Linked DNA regions of Homo sapiens: region 2 is linked to region 1. The links are contacts of gene promoters, found by promoter capture Hi-C in blood cells and fetal thymus (Javierre and others, 2016). All regions are on one chromosome and are shown on one strand. The core of a region is centred on a gene start or on the middle of the fragment in contact, and the rest is flanking DNA. Distances in the headings are between cores, read along the strand shown. Region 1 holds the start of SCG2 (secretogranin II). Region 2 holds the start of KCNE4 (potassium voltage-gated channel subfamily E regulatory subunit 4).

Region 1 (6,074 bases), core at 1,386-3,885:
CATTGGTGCTGCCCCAAATAGAAGTCCCGGCCTATGCCTTTGCTTTTCTTAGACCAGGAAAAGCAACTGGACAACTGGGGGTTTTTGTCAAAGAAACTAAATTCTGGACTTGGGTCTTTAATGATTAAATCCATCCCATATTTATTTCTGTATTTCCATCTCTAGCAGTGTCTGAATCATAGTTTTTATTGTAGAAATATCATAGAATGGACTTAAATACAAATTCTAGCTCTACCAATTATAAGTCAAAATAGTGGGCAACTTACTTATTTCTGAGCTTTAGTTTCTTCATCTGTAAAATGGAGATAAAAATACCTACTTGTTATAGTTGTCCGGAGGATTAAATTAGGTTCCAAGTACAGTGCTTGGATCATAACAGAACTCAGTAAGTGAGAGGTATTTATCATAGTCTCATAAGATAGGCAGAAATTCAATAGCCCACAATGGCTTATTGTTCTACCCACATCTTGAGCCTAGTGGAGCCAATCCATCCCAGCAACAGCCTCCTGGCATCTCACATCTACTTGGAGATTTTGAATGAGGTTTTGCATGTCTTTTGGATGATTGAAGATATTTCCAGGCAAGATGTTGACTCTGGGGCTTTAGAAGAACCGTAGCTTCTGGTTCTTGCCAAAAAGTTTAGTTCCACATAAATGAATTAGCCTAGTCAGGATGACTTTCTGGAGGGCTTTTGAGACCTATGCTGAACAAACTCAACATTTTAAGAATAATTGCAGAGTTTTCTAAAGCTGCGTTGATACTGGTTAGTTGAACTGGTCACACAGAACTGCTGGACAGAAAATTAGGTCAAACTTGGAGCAGCTAGCCAGGGCTTTGTTAAGATTTAAGGCAATCTTAGCTAAGGATGTCAGTGAATGAGCTGGTGTCATTGAGATGATGCTTGAGAAATGGGTCATATTTAGGTCTCTTCAACCCAGCATTTGATCATGCCCTAAAAAACCACTATGAGGCAAAATTTGTTGGATGAATTGGACATATAACCCCAGTCTGAGTGTATATGAATTCATATCAATCCACAAATGATGATCTCCTAGTCGTTTAGGAAAACCAAATAGGGAGAATCGAGGCACATTTTTCCAAGATTTTTTCTGTAAGACTTTAAGCCATTTCCTATTTTTTCGAGGAATTCAAAAGTACTAACATAGTTAGAAATCCTTGTAAGAAAACCTGATAGTGAGAAATCTCAGCTTAGGCCTTTTATTCCAGGACATTGTTTCCCCCTGAATTTCTAGGTTGAACCCATTGGCTATCCAAATGGTCCAAACACTGCTAGCTAACCTCTCTATTGATGCTTTCCAATTTATATGAAAATTATGTGTTTATTTGCATGTCATCCCCATTAGCTGAAAGGCTCATCAAAGGCAAAAAAATCACTTATTTTTGTATTAGTTAACAATTGTGCATTTAGCAATGTATCTGGCACCTAGTAGGTATTACAATTTATTGAGTCAGTGGCTGATTGTTCATTTAGCAGAAACACATGGGATCTCTTATATGGCAAGATTCTGTTGCATTCTTAAAGTATATGTCAACATATACAGTTTTTAGAAACTCATATCTTTAATAAAATAAAGTTTAAAATTTATATCCATATAAATTATTGAAATATATAATCAGGTTATCTGGTAAGGCAGAGGAATGATTATGAATTATAAATCTGAGAGGTTGAAAGTTAATTGCTGTATTATTCCCTGGATTGTTCACATTCATGGAAGGTATTCAACTCATCTGATTCAACAGGAGAAGGGAAATATTTATAGTACAACTTCCTTTCGATTGCAAATGAATTCTAGTTACGTATGTGTCACATTTTTCCCAAACAGTGAAAAGACTTTTTTTTTAAGTAGATGAAAGTATTTTCATCAGCACTCAACTTCTGAGCTTCCCTTTCTGAGATCAGATATTGTGAAAGACAGTAACAGAGATATAAAGAATTATTAGCTACTAAGCTTGAAGTCTGATAAATACCCATTTAAAAAACTATATAAGCTATTAAAGTTGGCTCTCATATAAAAGAGAGAGAACTCTCTGTTTTATTCAAATAAATATGATTTTAAAAGAATGATGGCTGTGGTCATGATAAGAAATATGGCCTTTCATATTTATAATGTGTCCTCCATTCATCTTGGTTATAACAGGAAATGGTAATGTAATTTCTTTGTGGGCAAAGATGAAAAAATAATCCTTGTCTGTAAAACTTTCTTACAACGACGACAACAATTACAACAGTGACACCAAGAAACTATTATAACAAGTTGCTAGAACATAGATGAGATTGTCTTGCAATTAGCCATGTCTGTCTGACACACATTTCTTTCTTTGTAAGAGAAATCGTGCAGAGCAGTTTATTCCGTCTCAAAGATTTTGATAAAAGAAAAAGGAAAACTGCAATTTTTGCCACAAAAAGACAGGTGGCGTAAGCATGCAACTTTTTTTTCTTTTCTTTTCTTTCTTTCTTTTTTTTTTTTTTTAAATATAAAGTGATTATTTTCTCTTGGTTCTTTGAAAAACCTCGCTTGTGCTGGGGTTTGTGGCTGAACCCGGTGACGTCAGTGTGGCAGTGCGGAGTCAGGCGCAGCGGCTCCCTATAAGCAGAGGAGCTGTCCGTGTGCTGAAACGGCCCGAGAAGCTCGCCCGGAGAACGGGGAGGAATATGCTGTGGAGCTCCTCTGCCATATAAACAAAAAGAGGTAAGGCTGCTTTTCTCTTTGATTTATTGGAAAGTTCCAAATTGCATGCTCTTCTTTTAATTCCTAGCTGAGAAGAAAAAGACTGTTTGGCAAGCTTATGTCGATAGGATAACTGAATAGCAACCTGCTGCTCATCAGCCAATGTAAGGACACTACATATGTGTATATACATGATCGGGTCTATGCTTTATACTACTTGATGTTGGATATTTACTAACCAGAATGTTACTTAGATAATCATATAAAAAAGAGTGAAAAAGTTAAGGATTTTAGTGTCAATACACAGATTAATGTAAAGTTAACCAAGCCCAATATCTTGTTTCTTTCCAAAATTTATTATTTCTGCCACTAAGAGCCAGATACGAAGCCAGGGGTATAATTTATATGTTTAATATTCTTAACAGTAGGTTTCCAATGATACAAAGGCTGTCAAGCATGTTAGTCATAAAGGCAACCCATTTTGGAACTAGGTTTTTTTTCTTTGATATTTATCTTACAAGAGCTCTGAATTAACTAACCACATAAAATTCTTTTCTGAACTTGTATATTTGAAAGAGCTTACATTATTATCTCCTAATTTTAGTTCTAAGATGTTAACTTAGGATTTTCCTGAACACTGGATTCTTCCTTTTTCCAGGGCAAAATATTATCTTGGGTTGTAATTTGGCTGTGACCATGAATTACAGAGAAATGATCATTTTGAATACATGATGAAAATACTCATAACTTTGTAAATTGTTATTGTTATTGCTATAATTTGATTTAAAGAGGATGTTCAATATGTTGCTAAAGATTTTGTCTGGGACAAGTATTTCATTTTTTCTGTATCCCAACTAGTTGAATTGCTTAAATTACATATAGTCACCTGCATGTGTCAATGCTCTAGCCTGAATTCAACAGAAAAGACATTTTAACTTGAGAGATTTTAATGATAGCTATCAGGGGAAAAATAATGTTCTAATTATTTGGATTTCAGAAAATTCAATTTTAAATCAAACCCCATATAGAATAGTAGAGCTGTTGAAACATCTTTACTACTTGAAAGAGCTGCTACCTGGGAAAAGAATCCTTTGGGTCTCACTCAAAGGCAATAACTATGTCATTCAAACTGAAGCTGAATAGTTAAGCAAAGGGTAGCACTTCTTAGGCTGTGGTTTAAACAACTGCAATGAGTAGTCTGCTTCAACTTTACAGCAAAGTGCAGTTCCAAGATAATGATTTTAAAGATGAGCATATAATCCACATGTTAAGACTATTTCAGTATTGTGGCTTCAAAAAAAATAAGTTCAGTAAGGTTTTTAAGATTATTATTTCAAATGCCAATGTTGAAAGTTGATTACCAAAGCTACATTAATCCTGAAATAATATAAACAAGAGTGCATAATGTATTTTTATTTGAACCTCATTATTTTATGAATAAAATTACTTATAGTAAACATGTATTTATAATAAATATTTTGGAAGTATCCTCTCAAATGCCTTTCAAGATGTTTCTTTCAATAAATTAAGTACTCTGGTAAACGTGAATCATTTAAATAGGTATATACGTATGCTAAAATGTTTTCATAACTAAGCCATTATTGGGCTCTAAAAAACTGGAAACAAAATCATCAATATGATCTTGTGAACAATGGTATTTTCTACAATTGATGTCTAAGCTAACAGAAAATTGTATACATATAACTTAGCTTATCTATCACAAAACCATGATCTGGTAAAGATATGAACAAACTTGTAAACTCCTCTTACATTCATTTTGTTTACAACAAAATAGCCAATATTAAAATAGTTTTTTCAATGTTAGCAATATTAAATGTAAAACACATAAAAACTAATCCTCTTCCTAATTCCTATGTAAGATTTTAAGGCATCGGAGGAAATAATGAATGGAGATTTTTAAGTAGGAAGAATTCAGCACATCATCTGTGTTTATTTGAATTGGGATTTACATAGTGGTTATTTTAAGATTTTTCTAAACAGTATGAGTGATTTAAGATTTCACAGGTCCATACCAAAATAGACACAGACAGAAGACAAACTGAATCTGAACACTCACAAGTTCAGAAATAGACTAGCTAAAAAAACTTATGTTCTCTCTGTAGCATCTGTTATTATTTACTATACACTCTGAAGGGCTGATGAAAAGTATAACCACAATTGCATTTTGCAAGACAGTCATAATATAAATTATTAGAAGAAATATGAAGCAAAGAGATTTTAAAACACTTTATTGGTTTAGCACGTTCACACAAAAAGAAACTTCATTGGTTTAGTCTACTGGCTGGAATCTGAGAAGACCCGTGTTCTGGAGGTTATTTATGGATCATTGGATTCGGTATCAGATTGAGAACAAGTTATTTCTGAAAAATATATCTGGATAGGACTCCCCAGAAGGTAATTCGGTATGATTGACATATAAAAGTATTACTTTGTCATATATGGTCATGTAACTGCAGCTGTGTTTCAGCAACAAAATTAGATGGACATTTCAGGAAATAAACCACATGTTTTTTGACACAACTTTAAGGACATAATTTGTGGGCGCGTATGTGTAAATGCATGTTTTAAATTAAGCCAACACATTATTTTGCCAATAGACTTCAATATATAAAATAATTAAAACATCTTGGGAAGTATTTGCTGCTTTATTATAGAGAAACAACATGTACTAAACATCAAACTACAAGTTCTGTAAATGAAAAAATAAAATTTAAGAAATCTCATATCAGTGTTTTTGCTGTTGTTTTAACTAAGAGAATGCTATGCAAGTTTTTGGTGAATGAGTAATAATTTTGCTAAAGATTCCTGTGGTTTGCTTGTGGGAATCATGTGGAAAATATTCATGAATTTTTAAAAAGAGTTATCCTAAGCTTAATGTGAAATAATATCTACTATGTTTTTTCCTCACCTCAATGATCAATTATTTCTTTTGCTATAGTGTCTTCTAGTTTGTTTCATTTGTGTAACTCATATTTTTTATGTTTTAAGGAAATCTTTCAAACATGGCTGAAGCAAAGACCCACTGGCTTGGAGCAGCCCTGTCTCTTATCCCTTTAATTTTCCTCATCTCTGGGGCTGAAGCAGCTTCATTTCAGAGAAACCAGCTGCTTCAGAAAGAACCAGACCTCAGGTTGGAAAATGTCCAAAAGTTTCCCAGTCCTGAAATGATCAGGGCTTTGGAGTACATAGAAAACCTCCGACAACAAGCTCATAAGGAAGAAAGCAGCCCAGATTATAATCCCTACCAAGGTGTCTCTGTCCCCCTTCAGCAAAAAGAAAATGGCGATGAAAGCCACTTGCCCGAGAGGGATTCACTGAGTGAAGAAGACTGGATGAGAATAATACTCGAAGCTTTGAGACAGG
Region 2 (6,074 bases), core at 2,576-5,075, 550 kb after region 1:
AGGCTTGTGCAAGACAAAAGGAGAACGGTGTTGTCCCTGCACCCCCTCCCATACCTGTGAATAGAGGCTGCCATGGGCTCAAAGCTCATTTTCTGAGCCAAGGACAAAACCTTAGCTCCCGAGATTGGCCCTAATGATCCATGCTAGTGGGCCACAGACTCCTTCCATCAAGTGACCTTAGCTGGTTATCTCCATGGTAACAGCACACATCCCAAACTGTTCCTTCCTGTGTGGGAGGAAACATTTCAGAAATGGGGGAAGGCTGAATTTAACAGTGGTTTTTCCCTCTTGTGACCCTTCTCCTTTGGCAAAGCGTGCACTTTTTCTGAGCACACAGCAGTCTCCTGAGGAAAGCGTCCATAGAAGAGGATGTTTTGTGACTTTATTTGCAGATGCATGCCCAGGACACATTTTTAAAGTAGAAGCCTGAATCTGCTTTTCTTTGAGTATTTCTCAGGGCGTTCCACCGTTCTTTGAACAACTCCCCAAAGAGAAAAGCCAGCATGCTGTCTTCTTGTTGAAAGAGAGAGCTCAGAAAGGTTAGGTAGCTTCCCCAGAGCTACAAGCAACATGGTAGCAGAGTTAGGCTAGAAAGCCAGACATAACAAGGCTGAGGCTCCACTGGCCACTATTTACACCCTACCTCCCCGCGTTTCAGGCGTAGCCTGAGCCACCATCCTGACCAACTGGCTGACAGGTCTCCCTCCAGCGCTAGACTCTGCCTCTAGTCCCATGACCGATGATATGTCCTGTGATTTTCTTCAGCACAGTACACAGACTTTAAGGAAAGGGCATGAGGCAAAAGTATGCTCTGCCTGAAGCTGGAGTTTAAGTTACATTTTAAGCTCAATGTTCTGTTTGTTCCACAATGTCTACGGTCAGAGCAGCATTTTACAGGATGATAAATTACCCTCGTTTAGCTGAATCCTAGAAGTGCATGTCTGACCATGAAACCCTCCAGTTGCAGCTCTGAAAGGCACCAGGGGGTCCACTTTCCAACCAGAATCATGAGCCAAGAGCATTCATTCCTTGGCCTGACTTCAGCCTTTCCCAGTAGATTTGATCCCATGATTCTACCAGTGAAAGAAATCTTCTACTGTGTAACATCCCTGCCTGACTCTGACGTACAAAGGTGTAATTAGAACAGTGTGGAGCAGGCAGGATGATCCATTTACCTCATCCCTAACATTTAAGTGCTTTCAAAATATGTTTTTAATATCTTAGGTGCACAGGGCCAAATTATCCTCTCAGTTTTTCACATGCATGAGTAAATCCACACAGACTAAACCCCTTGGGCCTTAGGTTCTGCTTAGAAATTCTTTTTTTTTTTTAAAGAAAACAAATATCCCATTAAAACGACAAAGTGTACTCTGCATATTTTTAGGACAATTAGAGTTTAGAATTCCCTCTCCTTCCACCCATGGCTTAAAAAAATAGAAAAATTCTTAACCATTTCCTTACGAAGAACGACATTAAACTGGGACAAATGGAAAGGCTCTCTTGCCTTTTACAGCAATCTTCTCATCTTACATCATCAAAGTACCAACTGATGGATCAGGGCCCTCGATATTGTTTGGGAAGGATCCAGGCTCCACTGTACTGTTGCCAGGTAAATTTTTTAGGTAGACAGTTACTAGTGAACTGAAGGGAAACACTTACTTGAAACAGAAAAGCCAATCTCACAGGAAACAGAGAAACATAAAAGTAAGGATGCTTCCTACCATTTGCTTGATTCAAAAACAGGTCATGCAAATAAAATTATGAAGAAGAGGCTGCCGCAGGCTGGCCACGGCCTCAGCCTGTGGGCAAGAGATACAGACAGACCAAGTGGGAGGGGCTGGAATCAGTCCCAGTCTGAAGGAGACCAGGAGAGGGAGGAGAGTCAACCCCAGCCCCACACGTCGTGCTTCACTGTGTTGGTAAGTTTGTGTTGCTGTTCATACAGCAGCTCTTTGCCCATTAGCAGGTGCTGCTGGGCCACATGTGTGGATAATATTTGCCAAGCCAACATACAGGTCAAACGTTTTCTTGCAACCAAGCTTGGAGCAACATCTTAGCAGCAGTTGACCTGTCACTGCATGTTCAAAGTCCAAAGACTCCAGGGCTGCCATATTTAAACAGAGAAGTCCATGTAAGACCATCTGCAGCTTGTTTTCCATTCATTACAAAGCATTTCAAAGGATGAAAAGCCAAGCCTCATTCACCCCATGGTTCAGACAGAAATAAGATACGCCCTCAGGAGATACTGACTTGGGAGAGGAGCAAAATCCAGAGATGTCTTGGGAAACGTATCTGTGATGTCTTCGAAACTAACAATTATATTGAAAAATCAAACAAAGAATTCATGACTTCCCAGGAGGGAAAAAATGTGTTTATTTATTTAAATTAAAAAATATTGTGAAAATTACAAAGTGTTAAATACAAAAGACAATTCTATACAACTCAACAGAATAAGAAGGAAGTATATACATCACTTTTTAATAGGTGCAGAGAGACTTGCACCAAACTTCAGGATTAAGCAATGGAAAATGTGACAAGGCACATGTCCGTCGCAGTGAAATTTCAGAATTCAAGTGATTCCAGGCAAGAGGCCAAACTTAACTTGGCTTCTTTCAACTTAAACAGCCCCCTTTGGCATAAGTCCACACTGAATTTTAAAGTGAACAGAGGGCCTTTTTCCCCCAAACATAAATTTCCTTTAGCTGTATGTCAAAGCGGACTGATAAACCAGCTCCTACACTGTTAACCCTTCCATGGCAACAGTAGTTATTGCTGTGTCTCCAATCCATGCAGAGCATTTTTCTTTAAAAAAAAAAAAAGTGGCCGGGTGCAGTGGCTCATGCCTGTAATCCCAGCACTTTGGGAGGCCGAGGTGGGAGGATCATTTAAGGCCAGGAGTTTGAGACCAGCCTGGCCAAAATGGCGAAACCCCATCTCTACTAAAAATCAAAAAATTAGCTGGGCGTGGTGGCAGGCGCCTGTAATCCCAGCTACTCAGGAGGCTGAGGCAGGAGAATCGCTGAAACCCAGGAGGTGGAGGTTGCAGTGAGCCAAGATTGCACCACTGCACTCCAGCCTGGGCAACAGAGCGAGATTCTGTCTTAAAAATAAAAAATAATAATAAATAAATAATTTTTTTAAAAGTTTTTTTAAATAGATTTAAATTTGACCTTTTACTTCCTCCTTGTCTTTAAGGGCCTAACGGATCTGCGAAACTGTTGACCACAGGAATACTTGGAGACATTGGAAGCATTCCTGTGTGTTTTCCTTTAGACTTTGCTTTCCCTTAGCTGGGAGTGTTAACATCACACATTCTCCAGAGAACTTTGCAGAGGAGAATGTGGTGTCTGCCTCTTTCCTTCAGTCCTGGGAAAACTACAGCAGGGCTGGGTTGGTAGCTTGCCCTGAATTCCCCAGTTATATGTGTTCTGAATCTCCAACTGCTCCTTTAAATCAGCAGATCCTTGTTCAGACTAACCGGCCAAAGGGGAAGCATTTGGTCCAAGCTTCCTCACACCAGGCTGTGGAATATTTATCACAGAGTCCTAAAATCTAAAGACATCCTCCCAACCCCCTGGGGATGGAGATCGTCGGGAGCCTCATGCAGACAGCGAGCTTCTTGATGACATGCCCGGGACCACACAGCAAATGAGTGTCAGGGCTCGGGATCAGGAAGCACAGAACTTGGAGCCCAGCTTTGTGCAATCTCCGCCTGAGTATGCCCTTCTAGGTCTCAGCTACGTGACGAAATACCACATTATGTCCTCTCCCAGCTCAGAAAACTAGGCTGGGAAACTGAGCAGCAGCAGAGCTAACGGCTTGGCCTTGTTCAACCCCACTTTACCCCTTCTAGAAAGATCAGGAAGAGTCTCCTGAACCACCATCGGGAGTGCAGGTTAGATTCTGGGGAAGCTCTTCTGATCCAAAGAACGTCATGCCATCATGTGATGCTGCATGGTCACAGGTCAGAGTTCAAGGTCATAAGTTAGACAAAAGGTCAAAATAGAAGATCATCTCTTATAACCCCGGCCAATGTTAACAGGTTTAAAAGTTACTTTTTTTTCTTATAGTGTGCAAATGGGCTGGGTTCAGATCTCCAGCTTTCTCCCATCAAAAATCCCCCTCTAATCCAAAAGAAGCTTGTAACCCACTGTGAAGGAATGCCACAGGTACACAGTAGAGATACTTACAGCCAATCAGATCTAGAAGGACAAAGCTCTAGGCAAAATAGCAAATCACAACTAGTCTCTCAGCGTGTCCTAAGCATTCGGCAGCCCTGGGAACAGGCAGACCCTGCAGGAGCTACCCAGGGCATCCAGTGAGAAAATGGCAAACATATCATCCCGCCAAATTCTGATCAGAACCCCAACACCCAGGCCCCAAAGTCAGTGTACGCGCTGCGCATCTCCGCGGCTTTTTCAGTGGTGGGTGCAAACCACAGGCACCTCCCGGACTCCTTGGAGGTGCTGGTTCCGGCTGAGCCTAGTCCCCCACCCCACCCCGAATCAGGGGTTTACCAAGGGTCTCTTCAAAGTGGCAGCCGCACTGTGAAAGTGAAACCAGACACTTGAAAACTGTCTTTCCTCTCTCTAAGGTTGCTGGCTGATGGAGCCACCGGCAGGGGTCCCGGGGGTGCTAGGAATTCTGATGGATGTTCTCCGAGGACCCTTCGCTGCTCTCGTTGAGGGGCGTCTCCGAGGTCTCCTCCAGCTCATCGTCTGCCCCCTCCTCCTGAATGGTGAGGTGCACGTCCGGGGAGGAGGACTCGGAGCTCACGCTGTCCCCTTCCATGGAACAGAGGGTGCAGGACAGCGCGGGCGCCACGCTCTCCTGCAGCATGTTCAGCATCAGGGGCACCTGCACCGACCTCAGGCCCGACACCACAGGCAGCGGCTTCATGGCCTCCCCCCAGAGCCGCTCCTCGTCTTTGTACAGCAGCAGGAGGCTGGACTTCTTCTCCCGCCTCTTGGATTTCATGTAGCCCAGCATGATTCCGATCAAGAAAATGCCGTAGAAGGACATGACAACCAGAATGTAGAAGTACTCGTTGCCATTGCCGCTGCCGCCGCCGGCCGCACGGGACTCCAGGGGGCTGCTGGAGGCGGCGGTGCCGGGGTGCGTGCTGTTCAGAGGCTCCATTTTCAGCATTGAGGCTGCCTCCACAGCAGGGGCTGGGGAAAAAGCCGCAGGTTAGAACTCTCCCCCAGGTCCTGGGCACAGGGAGGTGGGGGAGCACGAGGTTTGTGGAACTGCAATACCAAAAAAGCTTAAAAGTGCATGAAAGAAATAGCATAAGAGGGTTCGCCAAACAGCTGACAAGAGTGAGCTATGAGGGCTTGGAGTGCACGGGAGAGAAGCCCGGGAAGGTTCACTGGGAAAAGTAAGAAGGACTTTTTTTTTTTTTTTTAGTGTACACATTTGTCCTGTTTGTAGTGAGCAGTATTACTTTGATTAAAAAAAAAATCAATGTAAGACAGGAGCATACAGTAAATAGTATCTTTAAAACTGGGAAACGTATTTTAACTGAGCAGAAACAAAGTTTACATTGTGTTTCCAAAACCAAACTATTTTAAATTCAAAACAATGTTTCCTTAGAACAAAGAAAAGCAGGAAGAAAATAAAGGAAAAAAATTCATCTATTAATTGGCAAAAATGTCCCTCTTTCAAATGTTTCTGAAAGCAAAGTGTAGCCTTGCTGACTTACCAAGGCTGACAGTTTGTCCCAAGTTTTGAATTCCCAAATCGTCCAGTCCAAGAGGGTTCTTCTGCTCTGTCCGGCTCTGCGCTCTGACAACTCCGCTGCTGCAGTTGGGATATATAGTCAAGAAGTGCATCGTCACGTGCTCTGGGAGGAAAATTTACAACAGAGATTGATCGTGGCAGAGTGAGCAGTGAACTGAAAGCACTGCAGTTCAACTCCCTGAACTTTGCAGCTGTGAAAAGTGAAAAAGACTGGGAAGTGGGAACTGCTCCTCAAGCCCCAGCACCCGGCCAGGGTTTTCAGGTAGCGGTGACGATGAGTGAAAAGAGGAGAAAGGGATGTGCTGTGCTGGAACCGTTACCCCAAAGTCCGC

Evidence for each region. The method cuts DNA at HindIII sites, captures the fragments that hold promoters and counts their contacts. A CHiCAGO score of 5 or more calls a contact.
Region 2: a contact is called between a fragment that was not itself captured here and the fragment with the promoter of SCG2 in region 1, in 1 of 17 cell types (M1 macrophages). The highest score is 5.0, in M1 macrophages.

What each region holds. Positions count from the first base shown.
Region 1 is chr2:223,598,922-223,604,995 of GRCh38, reverse strand. SCG2 (secretogranin II) reads left to right here and starts at 2,635. Exons shown (of 2, transcript NM_003469.5): 1 at 2,635-2,711; 2 at 5,700-6,074. The coding sequence starts at 5,714. The HindIII fragment of the contact is 835 bases long and covers 1,973-2,807 here.
Region 2 is chr2:223,051,905-223,057,978 of GRCh38, reverse strand. It overlaps KCNE4 (potassium voltage-gated channel subfamily E regulatory subunit 4), which reads right to left and starts at 5,789. Exons shown (of 2, transcript NM_080671.4): 1 at 5,705-5,789; 2 at 2,342-5,171. The coding sequence starts at 5,148. The coding sequence ends at 4,636. RefSeq lists an enhancer at 4,934-5,481. The HindIII fragment of the contact is 633 bases long and covers 3,509-4,141 here.